Linked DNA regions of Homo sapiens: all the other regions are linked to region 2. Evidence: promoter capture Hi-C in 16 types of primary human blood cells and fetal thymus (Javierre and others, 2016). All regions are on one chromosome and are shown on one strand. Each heading gives the region's core, a stretch centred on a gene start or on the middle of the fragment in contact. The rest is flanking DNA. Distances are from core to core; before and after follow the strand shown. Region 1 has its middle 62 kb from the start of MBIP. Region 2 holds the start of LINC00609 (long intergenic non-protein coding RNA 609). Region 3 holds the start of LOC105370453 (a long non-coding RNA gene). Region 4 has its middle 45 kb from the start of MBIP. Region 5 overlaps LOC105370453 (a long non-coding RNA gene). Region 6 overlaps LOC105370453 (a long non-coding RNA gene).

The links. The method cuts DNA at HindIII sites, captures the fragments that hold promoters and counts their contacts. A CHiCAGO score of 5 or more calls a contact.
Region 1: a fragment that was not itself captured here is called in contact with the fragment with the promoter of LINC00609 in region 2 in 1 of 17 cell types (M2 macrophages); the score reaches 5.3 in M2 macrophages.
Region 3: a fragment that was not itself captured here is called in contact with the fragment with the promoter of LINC00609 in region 2 in 1 of 17 cell types (endothelial precursors); the score reaches 5.2 in endothelial precursors.
Region 4: a contact is called between a fragment that was not itself captured here and the fragment with the promoter of LINC00609 in region 2, in 2 of 17 cell types (endothelial precursors and megakaryocytes). The highest score is 5.6, in endothelial precursors.
Region 5: a contact is called between a fragment that was not itself captured here and the fragment with the promoter of LINC00609 in region 2, in 4 of 17 cell types (M1 macrophages, M2 macrophages, M0 macrophages and 1 more). The highest score is 9.9, in M1 macrophages.
Region 6: a fragment that was not itself captured here is called in contact with the fragment with the promoter of LINC00609 in region 2 in 1 of 17 cell types (M2 macrophages); the score reaches 5.0 in M2 macrophages.

Annotation. Positions count from the first base shown.
Region 1 is chr14:36,381,130-36,384,875 of GRCh38, forward strand. No RefSeq gene overlaps it. Among named protein-coding and RNA genes, the nearest start is that of MBIP, 62 kb to the left of the region's middle. The HindIII fragment of the contact is 5,190 bases long and covers 1-3,746 here.
Region 2 is chr14:36,068,131-36,071,993 of GRCh38, forward strand. LINC00609 (long intergenic non-protein coding RNA 609) reads left to right here and starts at 2,297. Exons shown (of 3, transcript NR_073454.1): 1 at 2,297-2,555. The HindIII fragment of the contact is 3,305 bases long and covers 163-3,467 here.
Region 3 is chr14:36,523,849-36,527,540 of GRCh38, forward strand. LOC105370453 (a long non-coding RNA gene) reads left to right here and starts at 841. Exons shown (of 3, transcript XR_001750715.2): 1 at 841-1,360. RefSeq lists an enhancer at 1,018-1,956. The HindIII fragment of the contact is 1,126 bases long and covers 764-1,889 here.
Region 4 is chr14:36,363,360-36,367,228 of GRCh38, forward strand. No RefSeq gene overlaps it. Among named protein-coding and RNA genes, the nearest start is that of MBIP, 45 kb to the left of the region's middle. The HindIII fragment of the contact is 1,584 bases long and covers 1,752-3,335 here.
Region 5 is chr14:36,560,374-36,564,028 of GRCh38, forward strand. It overlaps LOC105370453 (a long non-coding RNA gene), which reads left to right. Exons shown (of 3, transcript XR_001750715.2): 2 at 59-240. Among named protein-coding and RNA genes, the nearest start is that of NKX2-8, 20 kb to the right of the region's middle. The HindIII fragment of the contact is 1,678 bases long and covers 1,217-2,894 here.
Region 6 is chr14:36,541,985-36,545,996 of GRCh38, forward strand. All of the region lies in intron 1 of LOC105370453 (a long non-coding RNA gene), which reads left to right. Among named protein-coding and RNA genes, the nearest start is that of NKX2-1, 24 kb to the left of the region's middle. The HindIII fragment of the contact is 8,986 bases long and covers 1-4,012 here.

The DNA.
Region 1 (3,746 bases), core at 929-3,428, 310 kb after region 2:
AAATTTCTCAAAGAAGTAAAAGTAGATCTGCCATTTGATTTAGCAATCCCACTACTGGGTGTCTACCCAAAGGAAAGTCAGTCACTATATAAAAAGACACCTGTGTGCATATGTTTATCATAGCACAATCACAATTGCAAAGATATGGAATCAACATAAGTGCCCATCAATGGATAAAGAAAGAAAATGTGGTTATCTATCTATATACCTATCTACTCTGCCTATCATCTGTATACAATTGAATACTACTCATCCATAAAAAAGAATGAAATAATGTCTTTTGTAGCAACTTGGATGAAACTGGAGGCCATTATTCTAAGTGAAGTAACTCAGGAATCAAAAACCAAATACCACATATACTCACTTATAAGTGGGAGCTAAGTTATGGGTGTCCAAAGGTATGGAGTGATATAATGGGCATTGGAGACTCAGAAAGAGGGAGGTTGCGAGGGGGTTGTGGGGTGAATAATTACCTATCGGGTACAATGTACACTATTTGGATGCTGGGTGCACTAAAATCCCAGACTTAACCACTATACAAGTTATCCATGTAACCAAAACCCACTTGTACCCCTAACGCTATTAAAATACAATTTTTTTAAATTCTATTTTATGATCAGCATCCTAGGACCATTCTTGGTGCCAGCTGTCTTAGATCAAGTTTCAGGAAATAGACTCTGAGACAAATAGTTGCTTGCAGGATGTTTATTGGAGAAATTATTGAAACAACACCTGTTAGAAAGTAAGGGAAGCAGGATCGGGCAGAGGGAGAAGCTGAACTCCAATGTGCTTGCAATAGAGACATCAGCCAATCCCATAAAAAATGCTGGTGCTGGGACGGCACTTCTGAGTTATCCCAAACTGAGCCAAGGGGGCCATGTTTTTGTACCTCTGCACTAGATGTGGACTGGCCCTGGGGAGGGAGTGTGACATTGGGCAAGACAGCTTCCTTTGGCTAAATCAGGGTTTCTCCACAAAATACTATTGACATTTTGGACCAGACAGTTCTTTCTTGGAGGAAGGAGGCTGTCCTGTGCATTATAGGACATATATCAGCATCTCAGCCTCCACCTACTACATTTCAGTAGCATTCCCCCTTGATAATCAAAATATCTCCAGATATCGCCCCGTGTGTGTGTGTGTGTGTGTGTGTGTGTGTGTGTGTGTGTTTCCTTGCCAAGTGAGGACACATAAAGAAGTGTCCCTCTGCAAGTTAGGAAGAGGGCCCTCACCAGAATCAGCCACCACCTTGATCTTGGACTTCGCAGTCTTCAGAATTGTGAGGCATACATTTCTGTTGTTTAAGCCACCCAGGCTGTGGTATTTTTGTTGTAGCAGCCCAAATTGACTAAGGCAGACCTTCATCATTTTTCACCTTGATAATTGAAATAGCTGACACTCTCTACAGCTTCAGGAGACCACTCCCCATACATCTTCCTTATGTTCTCAGAGTATCTTTCATAAATGCAGGCATGAGCATGTCACTGCTGAACTAAACACCTCTCACCTGAAGTAACATTTTCCAAAGTGGGGTCTGCATCTAGTATGCTTTTCAAAAATGCTGATTCCAAGGCCTAACTCATCAGGCTCAAAGTCTCTGGGTGTATGGCACTTAAAAATTACAGTTAGACAACCTAAATTCCTTTTTATTCTAAGTGCAAACTCCTTTTCATGGCACAGGGTGCCCTTCAGAAACTGAAATCTCAGCCTATCTTCTTGACTTCATCTCCACCATTGACTCTCCTGTTTGTACTAAAAGCTGCGCCCAGCTGAACTACTTGTGTTTTGTTGAAACATGCCACGCATGTCCCAATATCTGTACCTCTTCACACATTTCTGCCTTCTTTTCCTCTAACTGCTAAAATTCCTGTGTGTTTTAAAACTCAGCTTCTCCTTGAAGCCTTCCATGATTATGTTCTTCACCAGTGTCTTCCTTTCCTTGGGGCTTCCATAGCACTCACCCTGTTATTCTGCATGTTATTCTGTTCCGGCCCTCACCCCTGGGCTATTCCCCTGTAGATAGCTGCCTCTCTCCTGGAATGGCGGCCTTCTGAGAGCACAGCCTGGGTCTTTATTCTAGCACGTTAGTCACTCAATAAACACTGACTGAGGGAATGAATGAGCATTGTGATACTCACTCTGGGTCAGTACTGCCTAATCGAAGTATAATGTGAAACACTTATGTAATTTTAGATTTTCTGGCAGCCACAATAAAAAGAGAAAGAGAAACAAGTGAAATTAATTCTAATCATGTTTTTATTTAACCCAATCTATCCAAAATATTATCATTACAACACGCAACTCATACAAAAAAGTATTGATATATTTTACATTATCTTTTCCTACTAAGTCTTTAGAATTCTAGTATGCTTTCATACTGAACACATTTCAAACCAGACTGGCCATAATTCACATGCTCAGTAGCCACATGTGGCTAGCGAGTACCATACTGGAATCACTAAACAGCATGATTCTATACTAGAGAGAATGCTATTGAGATATATGTGAGAGCTTTTGCCTATAAAGTAAGCAGTAGTCTAGTCCAGGGTTCATACTTGGTGGTTACATGGCACTTGAGTGGTTTTTACCAAGACCATGTTAACCTTGGTCTCCTTTGTGTGCTGCATGTAGATGCGAGAGCAGGTCTGACTGAGAGAGTCCTGCGTGTGAGCTATGCACGGCCTACAGAAAGTCAGCAGGACTGTCAGCAGCTAACAAACCTACTTCTCAACCAGGCAGTTGGAGCTGAAATGCACAAACAAACTACCTCTTTAGGGAACATTAAAGGCATTAAATGAGAATGCGACATTCTTTGGCACGCAAAGCCGCACCCTTCAAAGCCATCATCACTGAGGTTCTACTTAGCGAAAGAAAAAGCCACAGAAATGTAAATACAGATCATTTGTAGATGCCTTGGTAGAGGTGTATCCATGCCCTCTAGGGACATCATTCCATCTAAGGGAGGAGATAAAGAACATTTCTTAAGCAGGAAACTTAGAACCATTTCAAGATGTGAACTGTTTGTCTTGCTCAGGCCTGTCTGCTGGCTCCATCTAACTCAGACAGCAGTGAGTGTTTGCTGGGCCCAACCTCTACTCTCTTGGAGTCAGAACTAAAAAAAGAAAGTGATTCTCCAACTCCCAGCCCCACACTCGGTGACCTCAACTGAGAAGCCTGGTGCCAACTGGCACCAAGCATAGGGTGGAACTGAGAGATGACTTGGCATTCTCAGCCTGGCACCCTCTTGGTGGGCAGGAACCCAAAGCAGCCTTTCCTTCTGCTTCTGCTCCCTTAGAGCAAGAGGCCTCAGTTTCAGTCAAAACAGTCAGATACACAAATTAGCATCAGAACCAAAATGGTTTCCTGGGAAACTAATGACAAAAATTCCAGTTTTAAAACATTTTCTTTGCATCCTAGAGAGAGAAGCCATGTTTTTCACAAGGACAAAAGTCCTGTGCCAAAGAACTCCATCTCATATAAAGAAGTGTCATTGACCAAAGACTCTGGAATAGATGAAAAGTGCTATTTGAGGCTTTCAGCACATGCTTTATGTATTTTTCTATACCTTGTTCCCATATAATCCTGACCCATTCACTCATGCCTGTTTTTACAGAAGTGACACATTTCCTCATTAATTTCTTTTCCCAGCTGTCCTTTGTCCTATAAGAAGTTGAGCTTTTTAGCATGAAGCAGCTGGAGAACAAGTCAGAGATTTTTAAAAATTATTGGTAGAGAAGACTTAGAAT
Region 2 (3,863 bases), core at 1,047-3,546:
ATAAAAGAAGCAATGTCCACAATGTGTGGGGGGAGGAAAGTCTCCTGGGACCTTAAGAGGAAAGCGTACACTTCATCATAATTTGCCTGCAATGATCAGCAAACGAAAAAGTCAATACACAACCTGAAAAATGGTCATTGTTTGTGATTTAAAAGAAGAGTAAGCTTTAGGAATAAATACTAACATCACTGGGAACTCTGTCTCATCCTCACATCCTTTGAAAAGGCATTTGTAAGTGTTAAAATCCTTTCCCCTTGAAATACCACAAAGCTGCAAATATTTATTAAAACATCCAAATCAGTAATGTCTTTCTGAGATTTACAAGGATATTATTAGGTGGTCAGTGAACTTGAGGGTTTTTTTGCAAGTCAGTGGGACCTAAAAACTTTTCCTTTGGCTGGTCAGAGAAGCAGGCTGAGAAAGGGGGACTCTTACTGAGGGTTTTGTGAATAGCCTAGTAGCAGGTGCACACGAAAACACTAATGGTCAGAATAAAGTCTACACCCCTTAACTGTTCCTCACCAGCAATCATTTTCATTATTTCTGCTCAGTGACCTTTCATTCCCTCCATTTTTCTCTGATAATTAGATTTCTTAAATTAAAAAAGGTAGGGGGAGAAATGATAAGCTCAATAGAAGACAAACAGGAATTGAATGGATGTATGCATTTATTTTTAATATGTTTTAGCAAAACCTGTATGTACCTGCCCCCCCCCCGCAACACATACACATCATTGGGCTTTAGAATCCTTGCTGAGATGTGGGTTTGAGGGAGATAACCACGTGTGGTGAGTTGCAGAGCCTGCCCTCCGCCTGCCACCGTTGCTGTGGGGAGCGCACTCTCTGTCGAGCGCTGCTGTAGCAGACCCACCAAATCCCATGTAAGTGGTCAGAGCACAAATGAGGTTGTCGGTGGGTAGTCCTACCCTATTCATGAGCTCTTTCAGAACAATTTTCATTACTTTTTTTAAATACTGTTTTTGGCAAACACTTGATACTTGAAATAAAAAATGCATGAGTCACCTACTGGGATAGGCACAGTGTGTGGTTCATTGAATTTAGCTAAATTGTGAGTCATCCATCAATAGTCCTCTTGGTGAACATACTTGTAATAATTTCACACATTACAAACAAAAATAGGTATGATTTTCAAGATTCTTGAAGCTGTTTCCCTTGGGGATTCTTTGGATTGTGTTTAGAGTTTTTTGTGTTGCTAGGTGGTGAGAAACTTGTCAGCTTTGTTTTCAGATGGATCCAAGGCTTGTGTCTCTGTCACGTGATAAAAGAACTTTGGTTTGGGAGGCTCAGGGGCAGAGTATGAAGCTGAGCGTCATGAAGTGGGGGGAAACAGGAATTAGCGATTAATATTTGTCCTTGTCAGATCATTGACTTTTAAGATTGATTTTGGCATCTGAAAAATGTTTGGCTCCACTCTCAGGACAGAGTCAGAGCAGTAAGAATATGCACCTGTGTCCCCCACCCCCTTTTTTCTGATAGGAGAGAGCTGAGCAGGGTGGTTATGTGTCTGTGCACTACTGCCCTCTGTTGGATGGCACTAGAATTTCTCTGTATCCACACCCCAGCTGAATGAGCGCTCCTGGTTGGCTGGCAGGTGACCCAGGCAAATATGTCATTATTGGACTAAGACCAATTAAAAAAAAATAGTTGGCCTGTATAAACTAAGAGAGACCTCTCTCTGGTGGAGAAATAAGAGTGTAGACTTTCTGACCTGTAGGGTTCTTCTATTCTGGTGGCTGCCGGGCAAGAGGCTGGCATCTGCTGCTGAATGACAGGACAGACTTTGTGATTAAACTGCTAGATCTTTGGCTTTTCAGGAAGTGAAAATAATCACAAGATAAAGTATCCTTACTTGCATTTTTCCCCTTTCATAAGTGCAATAGGGCATAAAAGGGCTTTGGCTTTTGGCTACAATCAGAGGTGAAAGTTTTTATATGGATATAAGAAGAGAAGTTAAAGCTCTTTGCAAACTATGGCTAAAGTGCCATGTCAGTAAGACGTATACAGTGACCCAGGACACTGGCTGGGAAGTTTTCTTTGTTTTGGCAGATTCCTCTGCCCTCCTTCACCTTCTCCAAGGTAGCGAGAGTAAGTGTCCAGGCATGAGCCTTGGGGATACTGTCCTGCCACTACTGGCTGAGTAACTTGGGAAAGTTGTCTGACTCTTGGGCCACATTTTTTCTTTTGTGTAAAATGAGGCATTTGAAATAGATGCTATCTCAGAGTCGCTTCATTTCTGAGATGCAATAAATTATCTTTTCTTCCTAGATGATAATGTAAGCACAAAGAACAAAACTATTTAAAGACCACACACATACCCTCTCAAACAAATCACCTCCCTTTGGGAAAGCAACATGTTCACTGTGATAATTCAGCATCAGGACCTGAGGTGGTGGGAACAGCTTTGGCTGGTTTGCTGCTCTCCAAGGAGCTCCTGTGCCGGCCGCATTGGACAAGCATCTCTGCCCTGCGGCGCAGAGTCTCCAGGACCAGCAGATGGCGGACTTGCACAGTCCACACATTTTCCAGGTTCTCAAGGTAAATGGTACTGATTAACATCCAGAAATAACACCCACTGATGTTTGAACAAATTGCAGCGTTTTCCAGGCCACTAAAACCATGGCACTTTGTGAGCTGGAACATTTGCTAATATTTAAAATGGTTAGAAAGATTGTTAATCTATAATACTTTCGAGTGTTAACAGCCTCTTTCACCCACGCATCAGAAACCCTTAATAAATTGGCCTTCTTTTTTTTCAGGTGGGGAAATTAGGGCAGAGGGTCAATTGGCTAAGATCACAGCAGAACTAGTCCAAATAATTCAGACTATACACCTTGGTGATCTTTTAGAATTGTCGTTCCTCTTGCCCTTCCTTTCTTTAATGCCCACTTCTCTTGGTTGTGGAGGGGAATGTGTGTGTTGACTGGGGATATGGAAGAGGAATTGACGTCTTCTGCACTTTGGGGCATTGCCACCTGCCATGGTCATCAAAGCTCCTGATCGCCACAACCTGTATTCAGAATACCTGTGATAATAAGAACTGGCATTTATTGATTACTTACTTTGAGCCAGGCATTGTTCTAAGCATTTCTCACACACTAATCATTTAATCCTTCCAGCAGCCCATAAAGGAGGCAGAGAGAGTAAGTAACTTACCTAGAATAACAGATCTTTGTATTTTTCTAGGCTCTAAAAGCAGCAATGACTTCAATCTATTTTTTAGTGGTAATCACTCTTTCACCCCAGATATTTTCCAGCTAACAGATCATTGACTGATTTTTAATATTTAAATTGAGAAATTTATTGGAGCTTTGGTGATAATCATGTAAGTAAGCCCTGGTTATAGTAGCTTGTAATGCTATTATTAGTGTTCAAGATTTCCTTTCACAACCTTGTGCTTAGAAGGAATGATTCACTAGAAATGGAAATAAGATGTAAATGAAATGGGGAAGCTTGGCAATTTAATCACTCAAGTAATACATATTTTCAAAGTGCTCACTTAATCCACTAGTCACAAGGCGGCATTAGAGATGTGTTGGGGGGTTTCACTCCAACAACATTTATTTATTTCAAAAACATACATAGTGGTTACTGCATACCAGGCACAAATATTAGTTCACTTAATTCTCCTCACAACTATGATGAGCCCCTTTTACAGATGAGGAAACCAAGGTTCAGAGAGGTAAGAAACATAGCTAGTAAGTGGCAGATCAAGATTTAAACCAGCCCCTAGCTTCTGATCCATGCTCATAACTACGAGGCTGTGCTACCCCTATCAATAGAAATCAGGTATGCTGGCGGGACGTACAGTAATTTAACCAGAGTCAAAGACAGAAACAAACAGTT
Region 3 (3,692 bases), core at 77-2,576, 450 kb after region 2:
GTGCAGTACCGCTCTTGTGGGCTCCCGCCACACCCTGGAGTCACTCCCATCACAGCCAGAGTAAACCAGTGTGTGTTTTCTGGCTTCCCTCCTTGAGGGTGAGCCCCTGTTTTATCTATCTTTGAACCCCCCAGTGCCTCGAGAAACGCTGAGGAAACACAGCCTCCGAGCACCTGTTTCCTGAGCTGTAAAAAATGGTCACAACCTGCCCTGTGTACTGGCTTGGTTTGTGCTAGGGATCCAAACAATTCAGGATGAGATCATGTGCCTGAGTTTGTAGATCACAAAAGTCGCTAATAGAAGGAGTTATTCCTTCTGATTCTGTATTTTGGATTTAGAGAAACTGTGACTCTAGGCCTCTGACCTTCAACAAGAAACACTTGGGCCCCTCAGTTGCTCCCGCAGTCTCCCACAGCTAGGCACAGGCTTCTAAGCCGGGCTGAGCTGGGCTCGCGAGTGCCATCGAGGCAACCAGGCGCAGGGAGCGGAAGGCAGGAGTGTAACTGGGCGCTGGGGGGCGCTGCTCCGCAACCCCAAGATCCGAGGAATGCCTCCGGGGGATGATTTCTCTGGAGGGGTCTCGCAGGGCCCCCTCTGCGCTGCTTTCTCAGGCACCAGAACCGAAATCCTCGGGAGGGACCGCGGGAGCCCGGGGCGTGCAGACAGGCGGCTTTCACAGACGCAGCGGGAGGAAGGATCCCTCTACTGCTCCCTTTCCCGATTTGACCGTCTAGGGCCTTTGAGAGGACTTTCCTTTTGGGAAAGCTTTTCTCAATTCGTGGCCTGTGGGCAGGCTGGGGGGTGGGGCGCCAAGTCATCCGAGCGCGGCTTCTGCTTCTCCCTTTCCCTCACAGGCATGCTCTACGGAGGGTATGGGAGGCGAGGGCGCGTCTATGAGGGCCAGAGTCCGCGAAGAGAGTCCGGCCCTTAGGCCTTTGGTGTTGAAGAATCTGCTCCTCTGTCGGGTCAAGCCCCACTAGAAGTTAACACCTGTGGTCTCCAAACTTGCCTATTTTCCTGTCACGCAGTTCAAGCCAAGATTCAACTCGTCTTGAATTTTTGTATTTAGAGCCCCTACCTTCTCCACCGACTCCAGGGGCGCCCTCTGGCGGGAAGGGGCCTGGGGTAGGAGGGAACCTGAGGGAGCGGGTTACAAAGCAGAGAACAGCGGGAGCTCAGCAGCTCCCTTTGAATTGCGAGGAAACCAAGACGGAGACGGGAGGTAGGAGCACGGGCCTGAAGCGGTCAGCCGACCCTGTGAGGCCCGCGCTGCCGTGCTACGCCGCGAATCCGCCAGACGCCCCCGTCGGAAGGGGCAGGGACACCCTCGGGGGCGCTCTAGGGTTCGTGCTGCGCTAAGGTAAGTTTCGCAGCTGCTCCTGATAATTAAAGGACAGATTCCCGAAGCATCCTTGTGGCGGCGCGGCTGTTTTCGCCCCAGGACCTGTGCAGCCTCATTCAGCTTTAGGTAGTCGAAACCTATAGCTCTTTCTGCCCTCTGTTCCCCAACAAATCTCAGTCCCAACAGTGGGAGCCCGTGGGCCTTGGGTGTTCGAGTTTCCCGCGGGCTTGCCAGCAGCGCTGGGGTTCCCTCCTCCGCTCCTTTCCTCCTCTCCAACCTCCCACCACAGCCCGTCTCCCCCACATCCCCAACACTTGTCCCAGGCAGTTTCCGGTGGCCGCAGTATCGACCCCAGGCCATTGGGGTGGGTGTGAGGGAAGGGTGGAGGGGGAATCTCCGAGGCCCAATGTTTTCTGGGACTTGAGGGAGGCTGAATTCTCCCTCGCTGCCTAGGACTTGGGGTCTGAAGGTTGCAGACCGAGGCGATCCGCAGCGCCCTCTTCCGGCGGCCGTCTGGAGAACTGCAGCTTTAGAGCGGTCTCGGGGAAGCTTTGCTACTAGTTTCCGGCTAGGGAAAACTGGTGGTGGTCGGAGACTGGTAGTACATCATCCACGCATTCGCTCATTCTAACTGTCCGCCCGACCATACGTCAGGCTGTCTATCGGTCCACCCAAAGCCAATATAAGTTATGATTGACTCTTTGAATCACCCAGTCTCCTTGCACCTGCTATTTGAAAGAGCCCAGGTGTAGATCAGGGCTTGGAAGCTGCTCTTGTACCTAAAACCCTCTTTTAATTATGCTTTGCTTCGGAATTTTGTTATGCGAATGTCCTGTCCAAGTCAGAGGGCATTTGGAGGCATATTTGGTGACCAATGGAGTAGCTTGCACTTTCTGCATGTCCTTTCTGGAGGAGGCAGTGGCCCTATTAGCTTGACAGCCTGACACAAGGGGGTTCTGCCTTGTGTTGCAGCAGTAGGAGCATAACCTTTAGAAAATATTGGAGTAGGAAAACTTCTGGGACTAGCTACACTCGATGGGTGCCTTCCAGCTCTCCAATCTACGGTACCAACTCACTCAGGCAGGCTTTCCCCCAAATTATTCCCCCTTCTTTGGACTCTGGTCAAAACCAGATCCTCTCCACCCTCCCAAACCCATCCCAGCCAATATGCCCATGTTACTCTGCTATTCTTTTTCACTTAGCCAGAAAAATCATTCTTTCCAGCCCCACAACTAAGTCATATCCTTCTCTTTAAAAATCCAATTGCCTCTTCTGACAACTAAATGCCTGACACATAGTGGGAGCTCAATATATGTGTGCAGAATAAATGGATGAATCTCTATTACACTTTTCTGTTACATTGATAAGCAATTTCTTAATTGAGTGATTTCCTAATTGCCATGTGTTTGTGTTCTTTTTAGGCAGACCGTAAGCTCCTTATTTTCTGTTTTTTGTTGTTTTGTTTTTTCCCCCCAAGACAGGGTCTCTCTCTGTTGCCCAGGCCAGAGTATAGCGGTGTAATCATAGCTCACTGCCACCTCAAACTCCTAGGCTCAAGCAATCCTCCCTGCTCGGTCTCCCAAAGTGCTGGAATTACGGGCATGAGCCATCGTGCCCGTCCAGCTCCTTGATTTTAACAGCCATCTCAAAAACACTTAGACATGTTCCTAGAAATGTGCCCAGTGCTCTGAGGCATTTGATAATGTTAATCACCCCTTTCTAAAATTCTCTCATTGGCTGCAGAGTCACCACTCTATCATGGTTCTCTTCCTCCATCTCTGGACATTTCTTCTCAGAGACTAGGGTTGAATTCCCATCCTGCACTGTATACCCATCCCCGTGGCTTCAGCTGCCACCTGTTGCTGATGGCTCCTAAATCCATACCTCTAGCCAACCTCTCTTCAGAGCTTCCAATCTATATTTTCAGTTGTTTACCTCCTTATGTGAATTTCTGCCAAACAACATATCCAAATCTGAACTTACACTGTCCCAATTTGCTTCTTGTCCTGTGTTCTTGATCTAGGTGAATGGCATGAACATCTCCCAATTCCTGCCACCCCACTCCTTCACCAAGCTCCTGTGCTAGTCAGTTCTGTCTGCCATAACAAAACACCACAGACCGGGTGGCTTACACAATGAAAATTGGTTTTCTTACAGTTCTGGAGGCTGCAACGTCCAATATCAAAGCCTAGCAGGATTTATTTGCTGGTGAGGGCACTCTTAACTGGCTTGCAGAGAGACGCCTTCTCCATATGTCTTTGCATAGCAAAGAGAGATCTTTTTCTATATAAGCCACAGTCCTAATAGATTAGAGCCCCACCCTTATGACTTCTTTTAACCTTAATAACCT
Region 4 (3,869 bases), core at 1,294-3,793, 300 kb after region 2:
ATAGTAGGGGGCTCAATAAATGTTTGTAGAATTGATTAAAGTGTGAACACTAAAAAGCCCGAGTCTGCTGTGGATATGTTTATTTGGATGTATAATTGGCAGTTTCCCCATGGATCCCTTCAAGAGTGTGTTGATACCTTAGCAGCTCTTTGAAGTTATGGTGCATTTAATTAAATGTGTTATCTTTTTAGAGATCTTGTACCAAGAAAATAGATTGCATATTATAATGTATTCATTGTTCATTCCAAAAAAAGACCTATGCATCTGTTTAAGTATTCAGTTAACAAAGATACCAGAGATGAGAAATAACAGGTGTTCCAAGTAATTACCAATTCTAGTCAACCAAAAATTAGATGTTTTAAAATCTTCTCTTTTCTATTTCATATTCTTTTTTTTTTTTCCTTTTGATCAGAAGTGATTCCTTCCTAGATAATTCCACATGGTTCTGTTTTTCCTATTGTCTTGACATTGTGTAAGAATTTGAAAAAGAATGTTGCAATCTGTTTCTCTGAACTGTGGTTTATCAAGAGGATCTGTTTTAAGCCAAAGAGAGTTTCCTTGTATGGGATCATGCTAGGAGGTTGTGCGCGCCTTGCAGGCAAATGGAGGACTGCAGCCTCATGGAATTGTGCTGCTGTGGGGGCTGTAGGCTCCTGGCCCTCTTGGAGGGTGGATACTCCATGCCTTGTATCATATAGCTTTTAGCTGCCAGCATCTGCTAGGCTTTGGAATACCCAACTCTGATTTTCTGGGAGGCTTTTATGGTATTACGGCACTGTTTCTCAAATAGGGTTGATCATAAGACCCACTTTGGTTGCTTGTAAAAATGTTAAATCTCAGGCCTTACTCTAGAAAGAAACTGCAGGAGAGGGGCCTAGAATGTCTGTTTTTTGTTTTTGTTTTTGTTTTTGTCAAGTACCTTAGACAAGTCTTATGATCAGGCAAATTGAAGCACTTTCATATACTGGCTTAAAATAACTGGCTGCAGTAACTTATACTTAACTGGCCATGTGAATCTTTTTTCTTTTTCTTTTTTTTTTTTGAGAACGGTCTCACTCTTGTCACCCAGGCTGGAGTGCAGTGGTGCTCACTGCAACCTCTACTTTCCAGGCTCAAGCAATCCTCCCACCTCAGCCTCCCAAGTAGCTGGAACTATAGGTGCATGACACCACACTTGGCTAATTTTTATAGCAACAAGGTCTCACTATATTGCCCAGGCTGGTCTCAAACCCTTGGGTTCAAGTGACCCTCCTGCTTTGGCTGCCAAAGTGTTAGGATTTCAGGTGTGAACCACTGTGCCCAGCCCCATGTGAGTCTTAAGCAACTTAAATCCCCTCTCTAATTTAGTTTCCTCAACTGAAAAATGGGGATAATTATAGTACCTACCTATTGTTAGGATTTTAGAGAGGATTAAAGTAAATGATAATGTATGTTAAATACTTAGCAAAGCACCTGGGACAGAGTAAGCACTCAATAAATGTCAGCTATATAGTGAACTCTTCTCCCCTATTATTATATCAGCAATCTTGCCTTCTAGAGGATGTTTATATACATCCCTAGTTCACTTTACTCAGCAGGAAATCTTTCCTGTCTAGTTTGAAAAGATTCTTTGAGGATCCCCTGGGAGATCACAGTATTTTAGAATTGGAAAGGACTTAGATGCCTTATAATCCGGTACCCCAATTTTGTTTGCTCATTTTTGGTCTACTCCCTCTTCATTTTCAGTTAACTTCCAATTCATGTGTAGTTGAAGCTTGTCCTTCAAGGACAATCACCCTTCTACCAGCTACCTAGACTGGGAACATGGATAACCTTCCAGACAGAGCCCTCTCATGCCCAGAAAAGGCCCTGCTCTGCTGTTCCTTTGATGGTTAGAAGGTTTGCCCTTCCGGCAAACATAGCCGCTTTGCCTCCCTTGCCCAAAGAGAAGTTCTATGAATGCTTGTCCTGAATTTTAAAAACCAGCATGTTTTCCTCACTATTAGCCATCTAAGAGTTAGTCTTACTAAGTTTTTGTTATGTTTGTCTAGTTCTCTGTCTACTTAGATAAACCTGAATCAGTGTTATCTTTATTAGACCATGTATTCTTGAAAGTCAAAGATTTCCATTTTTTCCATTGCCTTCTGGAAAAATTCTGTCTAATTACATAATAAAGGCACAAAAACATGATGCCGATGCTGATCATAAATACTCAGACTATTATAATGTCTTTGTCTCAGTAAAATTCTTTTGGTCCTGTGATTCCATCTCATTTTAAGGACAATTTAATGCACGATTAATCTTTGTCCCCTGCATTTCTCCAATTTTAAGAACCACTTCTTTGTGTGTGCTAATTTGTCAAGCAAAACTTTAACAAACACCTCCTGGAAATTTAGAATAGAGAATTTTGAGGCATTCATTTGATTTTCTTGGCATTTACTTCCTTAAAGAAGTCAAAAAATTATTGAAGCATGACTTTTTCATTCCAGAGACTGCATTGGCTATCCTTAATCAAGCTGTGCTTTTCTCAGTGTTCCCCATTTAATCTCCTAAAATACTTCCTAAGACTTTGCCCCCTACAATGGAATCAAAACTAAATGGTCTGTAATTTCCTCAAGTGTTCCCAGATCCTGTTGTAAATAATGACATTGTGCTGGCCACTTTCCAGTCTGAATGAAGTGACCTTGTAAAAATGTCTGCTTACTCTTCTATAACGTCTTTTTCTACTTTCTGTAGGGCTCTTGCATACAGCTTGGCAAACAATACCTATTCCAAGAAACACCATTCTTCACCTCAGTCGTGTTATTTGCTTCATATAGGCAGTACCGTATCCAGAGCTAAAAGACTTATGCTTAAAAGTTAATTAGTATTTTAAAATAAGGAATTATAGGTACACTGTGGTAGGAGGCCAGCCTGTATGACCTATGAATATTTGAATTGACAGGAAGAAAATCTATTGTGGTTTGTAAACTCTTCAAAAAAATGTTGAACTTCCATTCAATCATTAGATAGCTTTTATTGTATTCATGTTCAATATCTTTTTTTAATAAAAAAGAAAACATTTCCTACTTTATAACACAAAACATTTAAAATTAGTTATTCCAAGCTGGCAGTTAGAAAAGAAGTATTTCACCCTCTTGGTAGAGACAGTTGTTCTTTCTGAGCAATTACATTGTATTCAAATGAGAAATATGTGATTTCTGGTTATACCAATGCTTTCCCCCTCTTCACCCCAAAGAGGATCAGGACATCTGGCATTGCCTAGGAAAAAGCAGCTAAACTCACTGAAGGGGCAGGGTACTTCTCACATGAAGACAGACTAAAAATACAAAAACCTATTAGTGTGAAATAACAAAAGCTTACAGGGGAGAAATAACTAGGACCTCTGAATCCTAAGCTATGTGGGACCACCGGCTAGACAAGCTAATTAAACTTTGCAACCCCCATTTGTTATGGCCCACATGGGCATATGAGTTTTATGAATTAGATACAAGTTACTGCAACTAAAAGAAGTTAAATAGATGGAGATATTGGTAGTGTTCAACCCAATGACAGTGATTTTATTATTTTCTTTAAGAAAAACCAAAGGGTAATAAATTTATGGGAGCATTTTGGACTTGATAAATCAAATCAAAATTTAAAAACATTCTTGGAAGTTATAAAGCTAACAAATAGACCAGCAAAATTTTTTCTTCGTAAAATAAGAGCAAAATAACTATTTAAAAAATGACTGTTTCTGATTTTTGGCAAAGTGATTACCTTTGCTTGTGCTTTCATAAGTATAAACATTACATGCATTTGTGGGGGCCAGTGTGTACTCTTTTACCTTCCCTTGGCATTGCTCATCTCTATCAAACACCTACAACACAGTGTGCTCCATTATAGGAGAC
Region 5 (3,655 bases), core at 806-3,305, 490 kb after region 2:
GTGTAAGTGGATGAGCAATATGATCAGGCATACATTATAAACATTACCATGATTACAGTGTGAAGAGGAAAAGTAAAACCAGCAGCAAGAAGACTGTAGAGATCCAGCTGTGAGAAGACAGCGGCCCATTCACTACAGTGGCTCTGGGTTCTGGCCTCTGGACTCATGACTGGACCAAGCCCTCCAGGAATCACTTTGTCTCCCCTCTCTCATTCCCTGATGAAGACAAGTCTCTGTGAGGTTGGTCAGTTTGTTATAGTTGTGTATCAGTCATGTTTTTTTTTCTGCATTTTATGATGCTTTGACAACTTGGGACCTGCCCCTCCCAGGGTTAATTAATTTCTGAGATAGCAAACAACTTGCCTGTGAGCATGCCTTTCGTATGCAAACTAACTAGTCCAGAACTCTTACTTCAAACCATCTCTAGCTGGTTTTTACACTTCAGAAGGCAATATTCCTCTGCTCTAATCATTCCAGGGCCATGCAGTGGACAACTGAGGACCACCCCAATAGCCCAGAGCCCATAGAAATTATTCAAACCATCCAATCCTACCCCTGCTTTGCTCCTTACCCTTTCTCTCCCATCCTTTCCCATGACAACCACAATCAAGGCTTCTGCCCGTGCTTTCCCTTTTCTCTTTCTGCCTCTCCTCTGACCCACATTTCGAAATCTATGTGTCCCTGTGTGGTACTGCAAGCTCCCTCCTCCTGAGAACTGTGAGAAACAGACTACCTTTTCAGTGGCAACTGTCTCCTCATGTGTTGGCCTCACCATACCTGAATAAAAACAATATCCCAGGTGCATTTCCAAACAAGTGCATTTCACTTAGGTAAGCTCCACGCTGTCTATGAAACTTTTAAGAATTCATGACTAATTTTATTTAAAGTGCTAAACAGTACTCAATGGTCTTGAAGTGTCCAAAATGAAAAATAAAATAAAATAAAAATAAAGTGCTAAATAGGTTTACTCAGTGCTCTTACATGTCATTCTACTTCTGCCATCTGTATAGTTTTATGAGTTCTGAAGGAGAGTTAACTGTCTTTTGTGAATCTTAAATACAGGCAATATTAGATTTAGCAATCTGGAGATCATTGGTGGCCTTCATGCAAAGAGTTTCAGCAGAATGGTGGGGCAAAATCTAACCGAGGGACTTCTCCTTTGACCAAGGAGAATTAGCAGTAATAGGAATCACTCTTCAATTATAAACAACTCGAAAGCTTGATGAAAATAGATGAAATAATCATTTTCAGATGTTGGACAATAGGCAGCATAGGACTGATCACTGAGAGAAGGGAAAAAAAGAGATGCACTTTAGGATGTCCTAGCTTACTACTGAGAGCCAGTGTTTAGCCACAGCGCAGGCAGGAGAACATAAAGAACCTGACATGCCTGCTGAGCTAAAGAGATCAAGATCAGGTCTGAGGATACCAAAATGGCTAGAACTTATAAGGCAGAGTACCAAAAAAGAGTGTTGCACAGAGAAAAATCTCTGAAGATCTGAAGAGGAGTCCCTTTGAGACTTTGGCTGAGTATTAATCTGAACATACATAAGAGAAAACACCCCCTGGCTGGGAAAAGGCTTCCCAGAACAATTCTGAAGATCACACAGAATTGGAAGGCATTCATGTTCCCACTAACCAAAATAAAGAGACTCCATACAATAGTTAGCACCCCCAGAAGGCTCATGCCTAGTGAGGGAACTCAATTAGTCCCAAAATAAAGGTTTCTCTGGACCCATTCTAAAAAAAAAACTTAAAATCCAACCTTAAATGATACTGAAGTACCTTAACTGGATGCCAGGAAAAACAAAACCACAACAACAACAAAAAACCTCTACAATCTTTAAAGGAATACATTAAAGCCAGTAGCAAAGAAAGCAAAATTTACAATTTTGTATCCAATTAAAAATTACCAGGTCTTAAAAGATGCAGAAAAATATTACCCATAACCAGAATAAAAAGCAATTAACAGAAACAGACCCAGAAAAGCCATACATCATGGAATTCATAGACAAGAACCTTAAAACAAGTACCACAATCTTATAAATATGGTCAAGATGTAAAGGGAAACATAAACTTGATGAGGAGAAAAATGGAAGATTTAAAAAGAGCCAAATAAAACTTCTAGAGGTAAAACATGCCATACCAGGAAAGAAAACTGAACTTGAAGACACTGCTATAGAAACTAACCAACATGAAGCACAAAGAGAAAATGATACTGAAAAAAAAATGGCACAAGATCTTAGTGAGTTGTGGGACTAATCAAAGTGTCTCATATTCATTTAACTGGAGTCCTAGCAGGAGAGAAGACTTGGGGAAGAGAAGTGGACATAAAATGTAATTGAAGAAATAATGGCCCCCAAAATCCAAATTTGTTGAAATTAAAAAAAACATAGATCCAAAAACCCCAAGCGGAATAAATATAAACTAAACCTCTTTAGGCACTTCATAATCAAGTTATTGAAATCCATTAATAATGAGAAAACATTTTAAAGCAGTCAGGGGAAAGAGATACACCACATAAAGAGAAACAAAGATAAAAAATGACAGCTGACTTACCAGAAACCACACAGGTCAGAAGACAACAGAACGTCTTTAAAGTGCTGACAGAAAAATAAAATAAAATAAATTGTTGGCCCAGAATAGTACACCCATGAAAATATATCTTTCAAAAATCAAGGTGAAAGAAAACCATTTTAAGATCAACAAGAGGGGAGGAGTTGCTATTCGACAATTATAAAATTTCAGTTCTGTAAGTTGGTTAAGTTCTATAAAACTATTGTCCAATCTGTAGTTAATGATACTGTATTGTACACTTAAAAGTTTGTTAAGAGGGTAGCTCTTACGTTAAGTGTTCTTACCACAATTTTTTAAAAAAGAACAACGATAACAAAAGCTTAGAAAGTTAATTGCCAGTAGCCCTATACAACAAGAAATAAAGGATTCCTGGATCTACACAAAGAAATAAGTGCCAGAAATGGTAAACATGTGAATACATATAAAAGTTTTTTCTGATTTAGAAAATGTTTTTAAAAGGTAATCGACTATAAGCAAAACTAACAACTCTGTATTATAAGGTTTACAGCATACACAGAAGCAAAATATCTGAGAACAATAGCACAAAGGAATGAGGGGGAATTTGGAAGGATGCCTTTGTAAGGTTCTTAAACTATACATGAAATGGTATAATATTTTTTGAAAGTAGACTGTGATAAGTTAAAGATGTATACTGTACACCCTAGAGCAGCTATTAATTTTTTGAAAAACAAAACAAGTATAGCTAGTAAACCAAATGTGCAGATAAAATCATTAGGGAAATGCAAATCAAAATCACAATGACGGACTGAGCATGGTGGCTCATGCCTATAATCCCAGCATTGTGGAAAGCCAAGGCAGGGGGAATCACTTGAGGCCAGGAGTTTGAGACCAGCCTGGGCGACACAGTGCCTCGTCTCTACAAAAGATTTTAAAATTAGCCAGGCATCGTGGCATGTACCTGTATTCTAGCTACTCAGGAGGCTGAGGTGGGAGGATCAATTGAGCCCAGGAATTTAAGGCTGCATTGATCTATGATTATGCCACTGCACTCCAGCCTAGATGACAGAGCAAGTCTCTATCTTAAAAAAAAAAATCACATGAGCTATTACCTCACACC
Region 6 (4,012 bases), core at 218-2,717, 470 kb after region 2:
ATACTGCAATAGACATGTCCATACATACAGATTTTTTGTTTTATTTTTTGTTTTTATAATTATTTCCTTAGGATAGATTCTTAGAAGTAGGATTACAGTATTTAAAAGATTGGAATATTTTATGGATCTTAATGTGTATTTATAGATTGCTTTCCAAAACACCATATCAATTTATATTTGCTGTTAACAAAGCATGTTTCATAATACTTTGGCAATTCCTGGATATTATTATTTCCAAAGTTTTTTAATACAAGCAATTAAAATGGTACTTTGTTTGTGTTTCTTTGACTGTTAGTGACCCTGAATATTGTGGTAAGAAGCATGGAAGATGTCCCCCTTTCTGATCCCACTCTCTGAGATTCATTTCCTTGTGCAATCCCCTCCTGAGTGTGGGCTGGACTTACTGTCTTGCCTCTAACAGAGAATATGGCAGATATAATATGGTAGATATCAACCTTTAGAAAAGACTCCTTTCATTTTGGGAAAATAAGAATCAGTCCTTTGGTTAAAAAGAAATGTAAAGTAAGTATCCACCAAGTTTTCTTAGGTAAAATGGAATTTTTTAGAAGTCTGATTGCAGAAGCTGCTTGTCTTTTGTGGATTGTTTCCATGAGAAGTTGGAGCATTATATTTGCTTGTTTTCTAAAAATAACTTTAGAATGGACTGAAATACCTGTAATTCAGATTTTGGGAGCCTGGCTTCAGGCATGGAAGCCATGGAAGCTGACGACACTGCATTCAGCAGACCACAAAGTTTGTTTCAGGTTCACGGATGGGCAAGAACAATAACTTAGACTTGGTTCAAGGTTGATTTTACTTTGATTTACTCCTAAAGCAGCCAATAAGCAGGGCAAAGTTTGTAGACATGATAAAGATGTAGGTAGACAAATATGGCTTTCCTTTGCCTCTCTCACATGGCGGGGGGGCACACTAGAAATTTAGCCCCTCTTGTTAGCGTGCCCAGAGCAAGATGTTGCGCCTAGCTGGAAAAGTGAAGACTTTACACCCCCAACCACACCAGCACACACTACACTCCTCCGCATAGAGTAATAATTCTGCTACATCGTTCATGCATAATGTCCAGGTTCTGGAACGTGAAGTTCTTTCAATGACAACACTTAGAAAAATCCCCTTATCAACCCCTGTCCTACTTTCCAAGTCCACTGGGCAAGTCTGGCCCTAGGCTGCCCCATTCACCGTGTCCTACCCAGTCAGACTTCCCCAACTGACAGCAAGCATCTTAAGATGACTAAAATTAAAAGTCTTTTTCTGGACTCTCTAGGGACACCTATACCTATGTAATGTATATAAGAGTGCTTTTAAGCTGAAAAATATGCTAAAAACATGCTAAAACATGCTTCAGTAAGCATGAAGTAGTGGTGCTATACATAGTTATTTTGATTTATCCAGGTTCTGATGCTGATTTGGATAATTCTCTTCTTTGTATCTTAGCTTCTTCTGAAGGACTAGGAAAAATTATGCTGGATTTTAATAAATATTACATATAATTCTTAAGAGACCTTAAATTATTTTGGAAAATACATTAAAACCAGACTATCGACATTACTTTTTTTTTTTTTTTTGCAGTTGCAAGATTTAATAGAGTGAAATAGAGTGAAAACAGAGCTCCCATACAAAGGGAGGGAACCCAAAGGGGGTTGTCAAATGCCTGGGTTTATATTCCAATCCTTGTTTATATCCCTCCCACTGTGCTCTCGGGCAATAGATCGGCTATTTCTTTACCTCCTGTTTTTGCCTAATTAGCATTTTAGTGAGCTCTCTGATTGGTTGGGTGTGAGCTAAGTTGCAAGCCCCGTGTTTAAAGGTGGATGCGGGCATCTTCCCAGCTAGGCTTAGGGATTCTTAGTTGGCCTAGGAAATCCAGCTAGTCCTGTCTCTCAGTCTCCCCTCTCAACAGGAAAACCCAAGTGCCGTTGGGGAGGTTGGCCGACGACCACTCTAACTGCTCTTGCTGAATTGGGGCATAGTAGGGGTTGCGCAGTTGAGATTTCCTGGGGAGGGGTGCCTTGGATGTCATTAACATCGGAGCATGGGCTAGCAGGCCAGTCCAGGGGTCCGCAGTAGCTCTTAGTCAAAGACTGCATCTGGGCTCCATTTGAAGAATGATTTGTAGTTTTTCAGCTTTGATTCTGGAAGAGACAAATGCTTTGGAGGTCCCTTCATGGTCACCAAAATGTTACCGGAGGGTCCTTGTTCACAGAGCTTCCAAGATGGTGGCAAGCCTCGTGTTCTCTGACCTGGGGTTCTTGGCCTCACGGATTCCAAGGAATGGAATCTTGGGCCATGCGGTGAGTGTTATACCTCTATTAGAAGCCTTGGGTCACGGAAGAGAACCATGGAACCCAGTGACAAGTGTTCAGCTCGATTAGGACGAACCCAGGCACTTAGCTGTGCAGGAACAATGGCAAGCCTTTAGCCTGATCGGGAGCGGCAATGGGTGCCTCGCTGGATCAGGAGCACAGTGGACACCCTGCCGGATCCGGAGGGATAGAAGTCAGCGGCGGTCCGCCACCGCGACAAACAGCAGTGGTGGACAGCAAGCGAAAGCTCAGCTTGAGCCGTAACAAACATGGACCAGCAGAGTGCAGTTGCAAGATTTAATAGAGTGAAATAAAGTGAAAACAGAGCTCCCATACAAAGGGAGGGGACCCAAAGGGGGTTGCCAACATTACTTATTTTGAACTTAAAGTTTTGAGTTTCTCATACATGAGGGTTTACTGCAGTTATTTCCTGTATAATACAATCCAATGGCACAGATCCTTTTTTTTTTTTTTTTTTTGAGACAGTCTCACTGTCACCCAGGCTGGAGTGGAGTGGCAGGATCTCAGCTCACTGCAACCTCCGCCTCCTCGGTTCAAGCGATTCTCCTGCCTCAGCCTCTCAAGTAGCTGGGATTACAGGCACGCGCCACCACGCCCAGCTAATTTTTTGTATTTTTAGTACAGACAGGGTTTCACCATGTTAGCCAGGATGGTCTCAATCTCCTGACCTCATGATCTGCCCACCTCGGCCTCCCAAAGTACTGGGGTTACAGGCGTGAGCCACCACACCCGGCCCAATGGCACAGATTCTAATGGCCTCATCACATCCTAGATTCAGCAGAATTATTACTGGGTTTATTTTTGCAGCCACAAACCCTGCTAGTTCGAGTGAATGACAATCTTTCTTCAAATCATACCCCTAAGTTCAGAAACTCATTTCATTCACTGATCTTCTTATTTGTTTTTTTGTAAGAGCATTTAAATTTAACAAATTGCTGCATGTGATTTATTTTGAATTTAATTACAGAGCCAAAATGCCACATATAATTATGGATGTAAGTAAGCATCAATTCTTTGCCCTGATGGCTTGAGAAAGGCTGTAAAGTGTAGCCTAGCCTTTCTGCATAATCTCCTATGAGCCTTTTCTGCCCGCTATTGAATCAGTGCTGACAAATAAAGTATCAGAATAGCAGCTAATACGAGGTCACGCCTTTGTGCCAAGCCCACTCCTCGCTACTCATTCATGTTGATGCTAATGTGATGCCATCTAACACAGTTCAGGAAAATTCATAAAATCAGCCTGCTTGGGAAGAACTTTAATCAAAGATGGAGAAATCACAACACTCCAGGGGTCGGTTTAAAATAAGTAGTAATATGACATATTTCCCTTTGTTATAAGTTAAAGCTCATTTTTATACTCTGGGAGAAGCAATTCAGCTCTCTAGAACAGCATAAGCATATATATATATATATAAACAACTAGCCCATCCGTGATACCACCAGCCTTAATTCTATAACATTAAAATAGTGGGTTTCAAAATGGAACTTCAGTTCTCACACATTCTCTGGGATTTAGAATGCACAGGTAATTTTCTGGGGTTCTTTACTGAATGAGAGGTGTTATATCTTCTTAACATTATATATATCACTATATATATATAATGTTACATAACATATTAAATAAATATATTTCTTCTTATAACAGTACATAGGGATTATTTTACTAGCTA